Regions from separate parts of the Homo sapiens genome. Here region 2 is linked to region 1. The links are contacts of gene promoters, found by promoter capture Hi-C in blood cells and fetal thymus (Javierre and others, 2016). All regions are on one chromosome and are shown on one strand. Each heading gives the region's core, a stretch centred on a gene start or on the middle of the fragment in contact. The rest is flanking DNA. Distances are from core to core; before and after follow the strand shown.

The links. Contacts are between HindIII fragments. The CHiCAGO score rates a contact against its expected background, and 5 or more counts as called.
Region 2: the fragment with the promoter of FAM204A here is called in contact with the fragment with the promoter of CCDC186 in region 1 in 1 of 17 cell types (naive CD8 T cells); the score reaches 5.1 in naive CD8 T cells.

The regions. Positions count from the first base shown.
Region 1 is chr10:114,170,418-114,176,714 of GRCh38, reverse strand. CCDC186 (coiled-coil domain containing 186) reads left to right here and starts at 2,512. Exons shown (of 16, transcript NM_018017.4): 1 at 2,512-2,700. It overlaps MIR2110 (microRNA 2110), which reads left to right and starts at 2,536; the gene lies at 2,536-2,610. It also overlaps a transcript of TDRD1 not described here. RefSeq lists a silencer at 2,177-2,446 and enhancers at 2,507-2,706, 2,302-2,830. The HindIII fragment of the contact is 5,809 bases long and covers 604-6,297 here.
Region 2 is chr10:118,338,403-118,344,699 of GRCh38, reverse strand. FAM204A (family with sequence similarity 204 member A) reads left to right here and starts at 2,376. Exons shown (of 9, transcript NM_022063.3): 1 at 2,376-2,430; 2 at 2,773-2,973. RefSeq lists enhancers at 2,216-2,435, 2,072-2,571. The HindIII fragment of the contact is 7,280 bases long and covers 1-5,074 here.

The DNA.
Region 1 (6,297 bases), core at 1,263-3,762:
GCAGTCCTGAACTGCTGGACTCAAGCCATCACCCTGCCTCAGTAGCTGGGATTACAAGTGTGAGCCATAGTGCCTGGCCATAATTTCTTAATATCATAAAATTAATACTAAACATTTCCAGATACCTCAAATGTTATTTTTTAATTTTCTTTTTAGAGATGGGATCCCACTGTGTTGTCCAGGCTGGTCTCAAACTCCTGAGCTCAAGCAGCCCACCTTGGCCTCCCAAAGGGCTGGGATTACAGGTGTGAGCCACCACACCCAGCCATTCAGATGTTATCTTAAATCGTTGATATGTTCAAATCAGTATCAAAACATCCTGTATTTGCACTCAGTGATATATTTTAAAAAGGGGTTTCTCTTTAAATCCTGTACTTCTCTTGCAATTTATTTATTACAGTAACTGCAGGGTTTTTTTTTTTTTCCATTCAATTTTGTTGATTGCATCCCCCGGCAGGAATACTTCACAGGTGGTGTTGTGCTTCTCTATTGTAGCATTTCAGAAAATACATAGTATGTAGTTGTTTCACTTTGGAGGATATTAAGATTGATCTAGTAGGTTCAAGTGGTGCCAGCCCCATCCATCCATTACAATACGAAGCTTCCTATCAGTTTTTCATCTAATGGTTCTAGATTCACAGATGACCATTACCTAGATCCATTATTTCATCAGGGTTTGCAAAATGGTGATCATCTATCTTTCTTTCTGCAATTATTACATGGAGTTCTACAGAGAAGAGCTTCCCCACATTGACTATTTGATTGACATTCAGTTTGCAACAGGAAAGGTAGGATGAATGCTTGATTCTTTATCAGTTCTCAGATTGTAATGACTTGTTGGCATCTTTCCAAGAGGGTCAATGACATTAAAAAAAATAAATGCACTCACTGATTTTTTTACATAGTGCGTCTCAACCAGTTGCTGTTATTATTTTTGAATGCTAAATTTGTCCTGTTTGAGAAGTTGGGGCATCTTTGAACTGCCTTCTGAGTCTTTTGGGTACAGTTCATGTTATCTTTGCTTTTCTTCCTTGCTTTCTGCTACAAGCAATATGTCCTAGGCTATCTTGCATATTTCTTGCCCCTACTGGGAATCAGCACTTAACCTCCAAGAGAAGCCAAGGTAACTTTTTTTGGGCAATGCTCTTTAGAGATCACAATCTGGGGAATAGGAGTGTGCAATGGGTTGGTCACTGTTCTAAGAGTTTTCAGTGGACACACCTTTTTTTTCACGAAAAAAATGTACCATGAGTTAATTCTGATATTTGTAAATTCAAATATAGGATTGCAGAATTTTAATATAATGTCTTTGGTTTATATTTGTATTTCTTTTCTCTTATGGTGAAAAACTTGGTTCACAAAGATATATTTATATACTTTATACTAATTATAAATTCAGAAATATTCAGAAATAGTAATACCTATGTTATTACTGACGAGTACCGAAAACAGCTTAAGGTTTCTTCAGTTTTTTCCCCTTGGATTAATGTCTCCCTAGGAAGGCTTGGTCGATTTATTGTTTTAAAGTCAAATCATTTATTTTCTATGACAAGACACTTTAACTGCAAAATGTGCTTCAGTGTAGTACCTTCATTTAAGGAGGAGTGAGGTGCCATTACACCTCCGTGTGTGTGTTTTGCCAACAGTATCGAAGACGCTTAACAGAACAGTAGTAAGTTTTGCTTTACAAATTCTTACATTGCAGAATCGTCTGCATCAGCTATTTTCATTCATGAGATATGTGTAAGACCTAAACCAAAGAACATCGTTTCCCCGGACTGAGGAGGTTTGCGAAACCTCCAGAGACTGAACTGCTGACCTTCCTTCTCTGGGCCGGGCGAGGCAACTGTACCCAATACACTTTTTGTTGCCATGCTGCGTGCCAGGTTACTCAGCCGGGAGAGGACACTTCCTACCATCAATGCGCTCAGCTTGAAGCCAGAGACGAAGGCACCGACAGTTTATTATTAAACAATGGCAGCAGCGCCACGCTGAAGACACGAACGCGCTGTTATGGAACCCCCAGAGGTCTCCCCCATCGTAGCCTGCTCCAGCCGACTCCGCCCACGTAAGGTGCAAGGTTTCCGCATGAGAGCCGGGAAGCCACAATTTCAAATTCTCTTTTATTGCTTTATGTCCCTGACTCATGCAGGCCAAAGGGTGAGGAGGAGTAATAGCCAACAAGAGCGTCCTGCAGAAAGAAACAGGCTGCGTGGGTCCGGAGGAGCTTGAAAGGAAGAACCCGACCAAAGGGCAGGAGACCCGGCTCTCCAGGTCGCGGAGGCGTGGGTGCCCAGCCAGGCGGAGTGCGGGGCGGGGCCTCTCGGGCCGCAAGGTGGGGCCTCCTGGGCCGGGAGGTGGGAGGTGAGCTCCGCCAGCCCAGCCCACTGCAGACAGGTTACCCAGGACCTCAAGGTGTGCTGCGTCACCCCGCCCGCGCTGCGCTGATTGGTTCCTCCAGGGAGCCCCCGCCCCCTCAGCTGTAACCGGGCCGGCTTCAGTGTCGCCGCCATCTTTGTTGATGTGTCAGCTCCGCAGGGGTTTGGGGAAACGGCCGCTGAGTGAGGCGTCGGCTGTGTTTCTCACCGCGGTCTTTTCCTCCCACTCTTGGCTGGTTGGACCCCGCTATGGAAAAGTTGGCCCCTGAGCCAGAGCTCCAGCAGCCTTGTTAGGGCGTGGCCTGAGGCTTGGATAAGTGGGGTAAGTGTCTGAGGGGTACTCGGGGCACACCGGTGAGTCGCGGTGGCGGTGCGGTGGGGCTGCCAGCCTTCCGCTCCTTCCTGCACGTTCCGTGGCGGGGGCGAGGGCGAGTGCGAGGTGGAGGTCGAGGTCGAGCGGGCTCCCCGCCTGGCTCCTTTGAGGGCGCGGAGGAAGGGGAGGGCTGGGGAACGGGTTTCAAGCCCTTTCCTCTCCCTGCCTTCCTCCTTCGGTTCCGGGACCTTGGAGGTGGCAAAGAGGGGTCAGCGGGGGTCGTGGGGGCTGTGCCTCGAGAGCGTCTGAATTCGAGCCCATTGCCTGGGCTGCGTGTGAACTGCAGCCAAGCCCTACCTGCTCGAGAATCTTTCCTAGACTCAATCGCCTATTTCGTTTTTCGTCTCAAGTTGACTGTATGTGGGTGTTTTATATTTACTGTTGTGAAGACTTGTTACCCTCTTCCAAACACTTCCATTACTGTGATTCTAAGTTCCTTAGAAGTGATTCTTTGGAGTGGTGGATACTGTTCTTTATGTTGTCTTTCAAGGACGTCAAGGCATTTCATAAACCTTGGTTGGTAAGGAAGGGGTTTCAGATTTATGTCTCCATCAGTAATGAAAAATGGCAAAAACAAAACAAAAACCCTTCTACGTGTCCCTAAGTAGCAATCTTGGGAAACAGTGCAGGTGTGAGTATTGCTTAGCTGTTAACAGTTTAACAACTTCACCTAATATTCCCATCTTGATTTTGTTTAGAGGAAAAAGTCCTGGATTTCGAGTCAGAACATCTGGATTAGAATCCTACTTCTTTCACTTGATAATCTTGTTACCTGTGGAAATCAGAAGAGAGAATATAGTAAAAATACGCAGTACAGTCCCAGGTACTTGGCCGTTTTCTCTGCATGTGTGTCATGTTCCTTTGATGCCCAGCTTTTTTTTCTTCCAAAACGATAGGCCGGGTGTTGTCTTCTAAGGTGTTCAGTAAATCAGGGTTTCAAGAGGTGTGCTGGTAGTCATTCAGAAGAAATTAATCTGCTATTATCTATTTAGGTATGCTAGTTGTGGGTGTGGCTTTCCCAACTATCAAGTACACCTTAATATTTACCGAGTGTTCATCTCGTGGGAAGGATTCAGGTTCAAGAGAGATTGATAGTGAAACTGAACTATCTCTGTGTGTAATGTACACTGTTCCCTGTGTAACTTCAATTCTTTATCCAACATTACACAAATAAAAAACAGTAATGATTGGCTAGGTTCATTTTTCTCTTTTATTTCTGGTCTTTTCATGTTATTTTTAATGCAGTGAAGATATTAGATCACGAATCTTGCAGTATTAAGAATTAAAACTTTTTACAGCATAATAGGCAAACGTATGATTACTGAAGATTCTCCCTGGAAATGCATGGATTGTGTTTGTTTTTTAAAGGCCCTGTTAAATTCAGAATAACTGCATATAAACTTAAGGTTTCTTTAAACAGTGGAGATTCCATAGTGTGTCATTGGCTTTTGAGTCCTATTTATTGCTAACGGAAAGGGTTGGCTGGTGTGTATCACAGTGACCACTCTAACCTTTTAGTTCTTTCACCCATAAAGTAGAGTTGTCCTTTAATGCTATGCAGTGACAGCATAGCTAATGATTGCTTAGTATGTTCAGTTTAGAAACATCTATTTGCAGCTTTATGCTGACATCACAGAGTGAAGATAAAAGCATTGCAGTATACTGACTCCAGGAAGAGACAGTAGGTTGAAGCACAAAGCAGCTTTATTTGGAGATTTAGAAAATAATCTTTCCCTTTGAAGAAGGACTGGTAATCTGCACTAGTTTCTCAAATTCATGCAACAGTTTCGTGTTAAAGTAAGAATCCTTACCCTGAAATTTTTTTTCTTTTAGTAAAACTTAGGTTTTTCTTTTATCTCTACCTTAAAATAACTAAAGCTGGTTTTTCAATTTCTCATAAACATATCACTGAGTTTACAGTATTGCAAATGTTATACTTAGTATTCATTTTAGGGGCAGCAGTGAGATCATAGATAATTTAATCTATTGTTTCAAACTGCTTTGAACTTTCTTAGCTACTGAGATTTAAAAAATGTATTTGGGCTAAAAAGTAAGAAAAAGGAAAAATACTGAGATGAAGGGACAGTAGACACAAAGTGGAAATCAGCACCAGCATAGTTTTGATTGGATTGTGAGTGTATTTCTTATTAACATTTGTCTATCATTAAGACACTTGAACTGATAATTGTGGGATTATGTAGACTATGTAATGTCTACCGCACTTACTACATAATCCCACGGTAGACTATCAGTTCATGTTTTTAATAAAGTAGAGCATACCAAATTAACCAACTCTGGCCAAAGGTGTCTTCAAAATTTAAACATTAACCCAAACTTTTTAATGTAATGCAGGCTTATAACTTGAAAAAAAATTTTTTTTAAAGATACTAGGCTTCATTTTGTTTAGTTTTTTGAGACAAGATCTCAATCTGTCACCCAGGCTGGAGTATAGTGGTATGATCATAATTCACTGTAGCCTTGAACTCCTGGTCTCAAGCAATCCTCCTGCCTTAGCCTCCTGAGTAGCTAGGACAACAGGCACAGGCCACCATACTAATCTTTTTAATTAAAAATTATATATTATTATTTTTTATAGACCAGGTCTTGCTATGTTTCCCAGGCTGTTCTCTTAATTCCTGGCCTCATTTGATCCTCCCATCTAGGCCTCCCAAAGTGCTGGGATTACAGGTGTGAGCCACCTGTAAAGGAAGGCCTGAGAGCCTTCCTTTTTGAAAAAGGAACTATAGGTCAGATTTTTTTTTACCTACTTTATTCCTTTTCAGATTTGGAGGAAAATTAGCTGATAATACTTTTCATGTTTTCTTAGACTCATTAAAGTGCAAGTGCAATCTTCAAATTAGATTTCTGTATTAGTAGGAAGTCATTTCTGATAACTTTCTGCTTTAGTATTTTAAAGTATTTATAGGAGACATGTAAAATTACCGAGCTGATATGACATATATGGTGTAACTTGATAAGGTGAACTATGATGTGGCCACTGACCCTCTTTTTCATGGAATTTTGATGGACCATAATTTCTCTTTGTCCTGTTATCCTATCACAGGATTTGGTACTATTTGGGAGTTGGTGGAGGGTGGGGGGGTCTTGCCGCATCTATTGCTCAAGTCTTTTTTTTTAAACATCTTTGTGTGTGTGTGTGTGATATAATGCACATATCATAAAGTTCTTGCCCTGAGTCTGGATTGTAAAGCTAAACATACCCCCACAGGGATAAATAACCTTGGTCTCATAAAACAAACTTTTCAAACTGGTGAACTAAAGGAAACTTTTTTATTCTAATGCTGTTTCACTTAAACTCAGTATATTACAGTTAAATTTGTGCCAACCATGGTGGCTCACATCTGTAATCACAGCACTTTTGGGGGGTTGAGGTGAGAAGATTGCTTGATGCCAGTAGTTTGAGATCACCCTGGGCAACATAGCAAGACTCCATCTCTACAAAACATTTTTAAAAATTAGCTGGGTTTGGCGGCATGTACCTGTAGTCCCAGCTTCTTAGGAGGCTGAGGTGGGAGGATCAGTTGA
Region 2 (6,297 bases), core at 1,127-3,626, 4.2 Mb before region 1:
CCTCCCGGGTTCAAGTGATTCTCGTGCCTCAGCCTCCCGAGTAGCTGGGATTACAGGCACATGCCACCATGCCCGGCTAATTTTTGTATTTTTAGTAGGGGGGAGCGGGTTTCAGCATGTTGGTCAGGCTGGTCTCGAACTCTTGACCTCAAGTGATCCACCTGCCTCGGCCTCCCAAAGTGCTGGGATTACAGGCGTGATCCACCATGCCCAGCCCCAGATCATTCTTAAACATACAAACATTAATTCCTTCCTACCCCATGCCTCAGTTCTTCCCCCTCTGCTATCTCTTTCCCCATTCTGGTAACATTTCCACCATCAGCAATTGTTATGAGCTGAATGTTTGTGCACCCCTAAAATTCCTATCTTAAAGCCATAACCCACAGTGTGGCTGTGTTTGGAGATGTGGCCTCTAAGGCAGTAATTAAGGTTAAATAAGGTCAGAAGGGTAGAACCCTGATCCAACAGGATTAGTGTCCTTTTAAGTACAGAGAAGAGACACTGGAGAGCTCCCCAAACTGTGCATATAAAGAAAAGGTGATGGGAGCACGACAGGGCAAGGGTGGCTGCCTACCACGCAAGAGAAGAGGCCTCAAAAAAAAAAAAAAAAAAAACCTACTTTGCTGGCATCTTGATCTTGGACTTCCCAGCATCTAGAACTGTGAGAAATAAATTCCTGTTGCCTAAGCTACCTTGTCTGTAGTATTTTGCTATCCCCAGATGAAGAGCAATTAAGAAGCCTAATGCAGTTACAACAGCACTCTCAGGCACACCTTCTTGTTACCTGTTTAACTTTTTAAAGATTTGGATTCAAGGAAAATCCTACTGAGAAGCTGAACAGATTTGGCCAAAATAGTTTTACACAGATCCTTAACTCATTCAGCCTTGCTTCTACTCTAGAATCAGAGAATGTGAACAGGAAGAGGGACCTCGGCGATCCAAACTTGCTGATTCAGGTTTTACTATGATTCTGGGGTTATAGAAAACTGCTCTCTAAACTTGGCGCATCTTCTGGAAGATGTTGGAGGTGAGGTGGTTTAGTGGATAGTTAATAGGCTTAACCATCTGTTGATGTGAAATTGAGATATATTACTGAGTGCAATGCAAAATTTTATACACATTTAGCTTGCTTTGAAGAAAGACATTATTGGTAATGTTAACAGCAAAAAACAGCTGAGATTGAAAATTAGCGTGGGCTAGGTAACATGTTAAAGTCTTTATGTGTACAGTAGCCTCCCTTATCCGCAGGGAATACCTTCCAAGACTCCCCGGTAGATGCCTGAATCCTGGAATAATGGCGAACCCCACATATAGTTTTTCAATCTGATAACCAAGATGGCTACTAAGTGACTAAGAACCTGGTAGCCTAACAGCATGCATGGACAAAGCGATGATTCACACTGCAGATTTCATCAGGATATCCAGAATGGGCTTGCAATGAAACATTTGAATTGCTTATTTCTGGAATTTTTTACTTAATGTGTTTGGACCTTGGTTGACCCCAGGTAACTGAAATCAGGCTAAGAGAAGCCACAGATGAGGGAAGCCTACTGTATTTTCTTTTCTTTTCTTTTTTTGAAATAGGGTCTGGTTCTGTTGCCCAGGCTTTTCTTATATAATCATCACAAAATTAGCAAATAGGTACACTTAATGTTATTCTTATTATAAAACAGTATTTCGGAAAATGCAAATATTTCTAAAATAGCCCTATTCCCATCCCTATCCATAGGGTATTTTATCCTCTTCGCAGTGCTTTTCTCTCTCTTTTTTTTCCCCTTATTTTCTATGTTCCCCAAGCACCCCCTTCTGGGCATAACACAGTGCCTGCCACAAATAAGAAAAAAAGAAGTTCGGTAAACTTTTGGTCCAGTCAGTGAAGCACCTTGGACCCCATCACCAGACGGTAGGCGCCAAGAGAGCAAGAGTCAGCATGTTTTCTGCTAACCAGAGATTAGCACGATGCCTGGTACAAAGTAGGCGCCCAATAAATAGGTGAAGAAAGAAAAAAAATTAAAAAAAAGGAAGAGAGTGAGGGGAAAGGATGAATGAATGAAGACGTTTGCAGAGGGGCCTAGAAAGAAAGCACTCTGCAAGATTCTCCCTCCTGGTGGCATCAACTCTCAGTTCAAGGTCTATGTCAGCCCTTTCCTTGCCCAGACGCATTGGCCTACAGCAGGGAATGAAGAAAGAACAAAGTCTTTAAAAATGTTCAGAAGAAAGAGAAAACGGCAAGATAAAAGAGAGAAAAAAAAGAAAGAAAGGAACCACCTCCTTCGGGCGGACTAAAAAGGGAAGCCCCAGGAGGCCGGTTGCTAAGGCGACCCTAGGGCCAGAACGGCCCCAGCCCATTGGTTGAGACGCAGGAGCCAATGAGAAGGCGCGATGTTGACGGGGTCCTAAGATGGCTGCTGGGCGACCACTTCCTGACAGGTGAGTACGGCTTATGGAGGGTTGGTTACCCGCCGGTTCGGGCTCCGGCATGATGAGTCTGGGAGGGCCTCTTGTGGGCAGCCGAGGGAGGCGGCATGGGCGGCCTCATAGCTCCTCGGCCGAGCCTCCCGGAGCAGGCTAGAAAAGCCCCCGGCCCGGGGCCGCGGAAGCGACGGCGGGGCCGCCCTCAGCCTTCCTCGAAAGGGGCGTCGCAGCGGCCTCCCCAGCCTGTTATGTGGAGGGGGTTCTCCGTCCCACCCAGGTCAAAGTGAGAGGGGATTGAGGAGGCTGTCGATAGGGAAAACAGGCTCACGTTTACAGTTGCTGTATTCCGGAAAACAGCTCCAGTTAATGGGACTGCCAGCAGGCTAGACATCCTTCGCCGGAATGTGCAGCGCTTAGTTCTGTGCCCGGGAGGGGCTTCTCTCTCTTTTGGGATTGGAGTGTGGCATTGCCGCCAGAAAGCCTGCAGAATTCCGGGTTGTGCAGCCAAGCAGGAACGGTGTACCTTTCTAGACCCATCCTCTTGCAATCTTGGACCCTGTAAGTATTCTCACAGCGGAATCGACTTAAAATGAGCCTTGAACTGTTAACTTGGTTTATTGTCTTTCCATGCAGGATCTTGGGTCTGGGAAAATGTTTTCCAGGCCTCAAGTAAACGAACACTCTCTTTAATTAAAACAGTTGAATACATGCAAAATCTTGCTAAATAAGTAGTTTTTCTGGATTCGCTCTCAGGCCTGTAATTCAGTTGTCCTTTCTGTACCTTTTTTGAGAAAAGGAACACATTCATTTCATAAAAGTAAATAGGATATTTACGTTAATGTTGATGTTAACATGCTTGAAAATAGTAACTATTTTTAAGTCACAGACTCTGATTATGATGTAAATTACAATCTTCAGATTGTTAAATAATTGTGGCTTATAATTAGTATACAAGTGAAATTAATTTTAGATCAGACGAAGTTCAGGCTTCTGGAATTATTTCTAATCAAATACAAAATATAGGAAATAAGACAGCCTTATACGATGAAAATGGAATTTAAATTCTGGAATAGAGATGGAAAACATTTACCCATCGAGCTGCTCAAATATATCTTTTGGGTTTTGATTATAAGCAGCTGTCTGGTTGTCCAGAAAATATGACATTATTACTCAAACCTCTGACTGTGACTTTGACTTTGATGTATGCAACTTAGTATAGCATCTTGCATAGCTTTCTGTACTCAAAAAGTACAGAAAAAAATTCTTAACCAAATTTAACAAGTCTGTAATTATAGGCTAAGATCATTCTCAGCCCCAGTCGCAAATCCTTGTCCCCGCTTACAACTCTGCTCTGTAAAATTCATAATCTAAAGCCATGGGGCTATTTTTGTAAAACAAATGGATCAGAATGCATTAGGCAAGTCAGTTATCCCATCTGTAAATTGGGGGCGGGGCGGGTAGGGGAGGGGCTGATATAGATAGTAATTCCTAGTGGAAGGGTTGTTGTGAAGATTAGTGGAAAACCAAGGCCTGCCACACTGTTTGTATGCCATGTGCAGCAGTGACTTGCTTTGTTTCCCCTTTCTGGTTCTAGTGTTTCCTGTTGTAACTAGGGTTCCTTCCCCTTCTCAGTGTCCTGAAGTGTACAGAGTTTCTCTGAAAACATCCTCTTGGCTGAGTTGCTAGGTAGAGGAGAGAAACCTTATCTACTGGATACTGGGCTCTAATCAGGATTGCAGTGCTAGAGAGAATGGAGTGATACATCCAGGAGTGAGGTGACTCTGGGCATTTAGGGCACTTATAATATCAAAATCATAAAGAGGCATTTTAGAGCTGTAAGACATCTCAGAGATCATTTGATCAAACCTTTATTTTATAGCTTAAGAATGGAGGCCCAGACAAATGCAGTGGCTTTCTCCTAATTATGTTGCTCAGGACTAGAAACCATTTTCCAACTTTGAAGACTTTTTCCCCCTGTAACCAGTGCACAATCTAGAACGGTTTTTATTATAATTTGATTTCTCCCTGGCTGCTTTATTTTGAAAGATTGTGTCTACTCAACCTTATTTATGAATGTTTTTTTCTGATAAAAATCAGACCTATAACTACCAGTGAACCTCTGATTAACATGTGAAAAATAGTGCTTCACTAAATTGGTCTTTTCCTGTAATGATGAATGGTACAGTCTTACTGAGGGGAAAAATAAAATAGTTTGGGCTTTTTGAAATTAGCTTAGAGACTCCTGTTACTATATTCATACTTAGATTAGGAACCACTGAACTGTACCCTGTTTTTGATTCATTGTTATCTGACCAAGTATGCTAAATAATAACGATGGGTGGTTTTCAAGGGCAAACAAACAAACAAACAAGAAACCCTAGTTATTCAGACTAGGACAGTATATAAATATTTTCAGTTCATGGCAAATTGTGTTAGCCCAGGACTAAAGATGTGTTCTGCATAGTACACACAGAATGTCTTGAGGATAATTGTGGGATGGAATAAATCTTAACTCTAGAGGTGGAGGGTGTGTAAAATGAAGAAAGTGATATTCAAAACCATAGAGAGAAAAAGGATTCTGAGTCATTTACATTTTCCTTGGGGCTAAAATGATTAAATTGAAAATTATTTGGGTTGCAGGGTAAAAAAAATGAAAGCTTATGAATTAATACATTGGCTGTTATATGGACTTGGCTATAATCTATGCTAAACAAATTTAAGTTTCTGTTTCTCTGATATTCCACGTTTCTGGAGACAGGCTGAGTGAATTTTCACAGTTAAAGGGTAACTTGGGATTATCTGCCTTAAAATAAAGAAATACGCTCTGAAAGGCATAAGTAAGAGACACTTATAGAGAATCATTCTCCACAGCAGCCAAAACAAGAATAACAGGAGGCCTAACATGGTGCCAGTTGGAAACTTTGTGAATGACAAGTATATGCTATGAATAGAAAGACTGTTTTGAAACATGAGTCCAAAGCAAAAGTCACTAAGCAGCCACTCCATATTGGCTGATCTGTAACTGGGCTGCTGCTTACACGGGCAACTCCATTTTGCAGGCTGCACAGTAAGTGGCAGCAGTTATCCGTGTTTATCAGTGACTGCTCAGTCTCCCTTGTATTTGTTTTTTTGAGAGTCACAGGAAAATGGCACATGACTAAAGGTTCTAAAGAGTGGAATTCAAAACCTACCTGATTTGAATTTTGCCTGGATTTAGAGGTGGATTCCACCTTTTTCAAACTATTTTAATTTTTTTTCCTTTGGGTACACTCAAGAAATTATCATACCAGGCAGATGCCACACTGAGGACAGTTTTTAATGCCACATGAGCAGGAGCTAAAAATATATAATTTTGAGAAAATTTAAAAAGCCATAAAAAATGCCTAACTACTTGAAGGCTGATTAGCAACAACAACAGCAAAAAGCATGCCTTCTTCGGGGCAACTGAGACTGCTTCCCAGAGGGAAGCATGTTTGGGTGCCCAGAGCATAGACTATCACCCTGCAGAGATGCTAAAACAGTGGTTTAGTAGGAGACCTGTGCCACTGCCCATTGGAGAGGCATACACGTTTCATGAGCAGTCACATCTAAAGTCCAGGTCAAGGAATACTTGGCTCAAAAACTGAGCAGAAACTTGCTATGTGTATAGCTGTCATTTCGTGAGGCTAGGGATTTTTGCCTGTTTTATATACTTCTGTCCCCAGGGTCTTGAAGAGTGTCTGGCACATAAGTGGGCATGTAAAATATTTTATGGACAGGAAGGGAAAGAGTTATTTCTAACATAGACTCCAGTGATGCTAAGAAATCCAAACCTGAAATTTGTTACTGTTTTAAGTCCTTAAATGATAATGAGCCTAAAGGTATATTATATGGCGGTGGCCA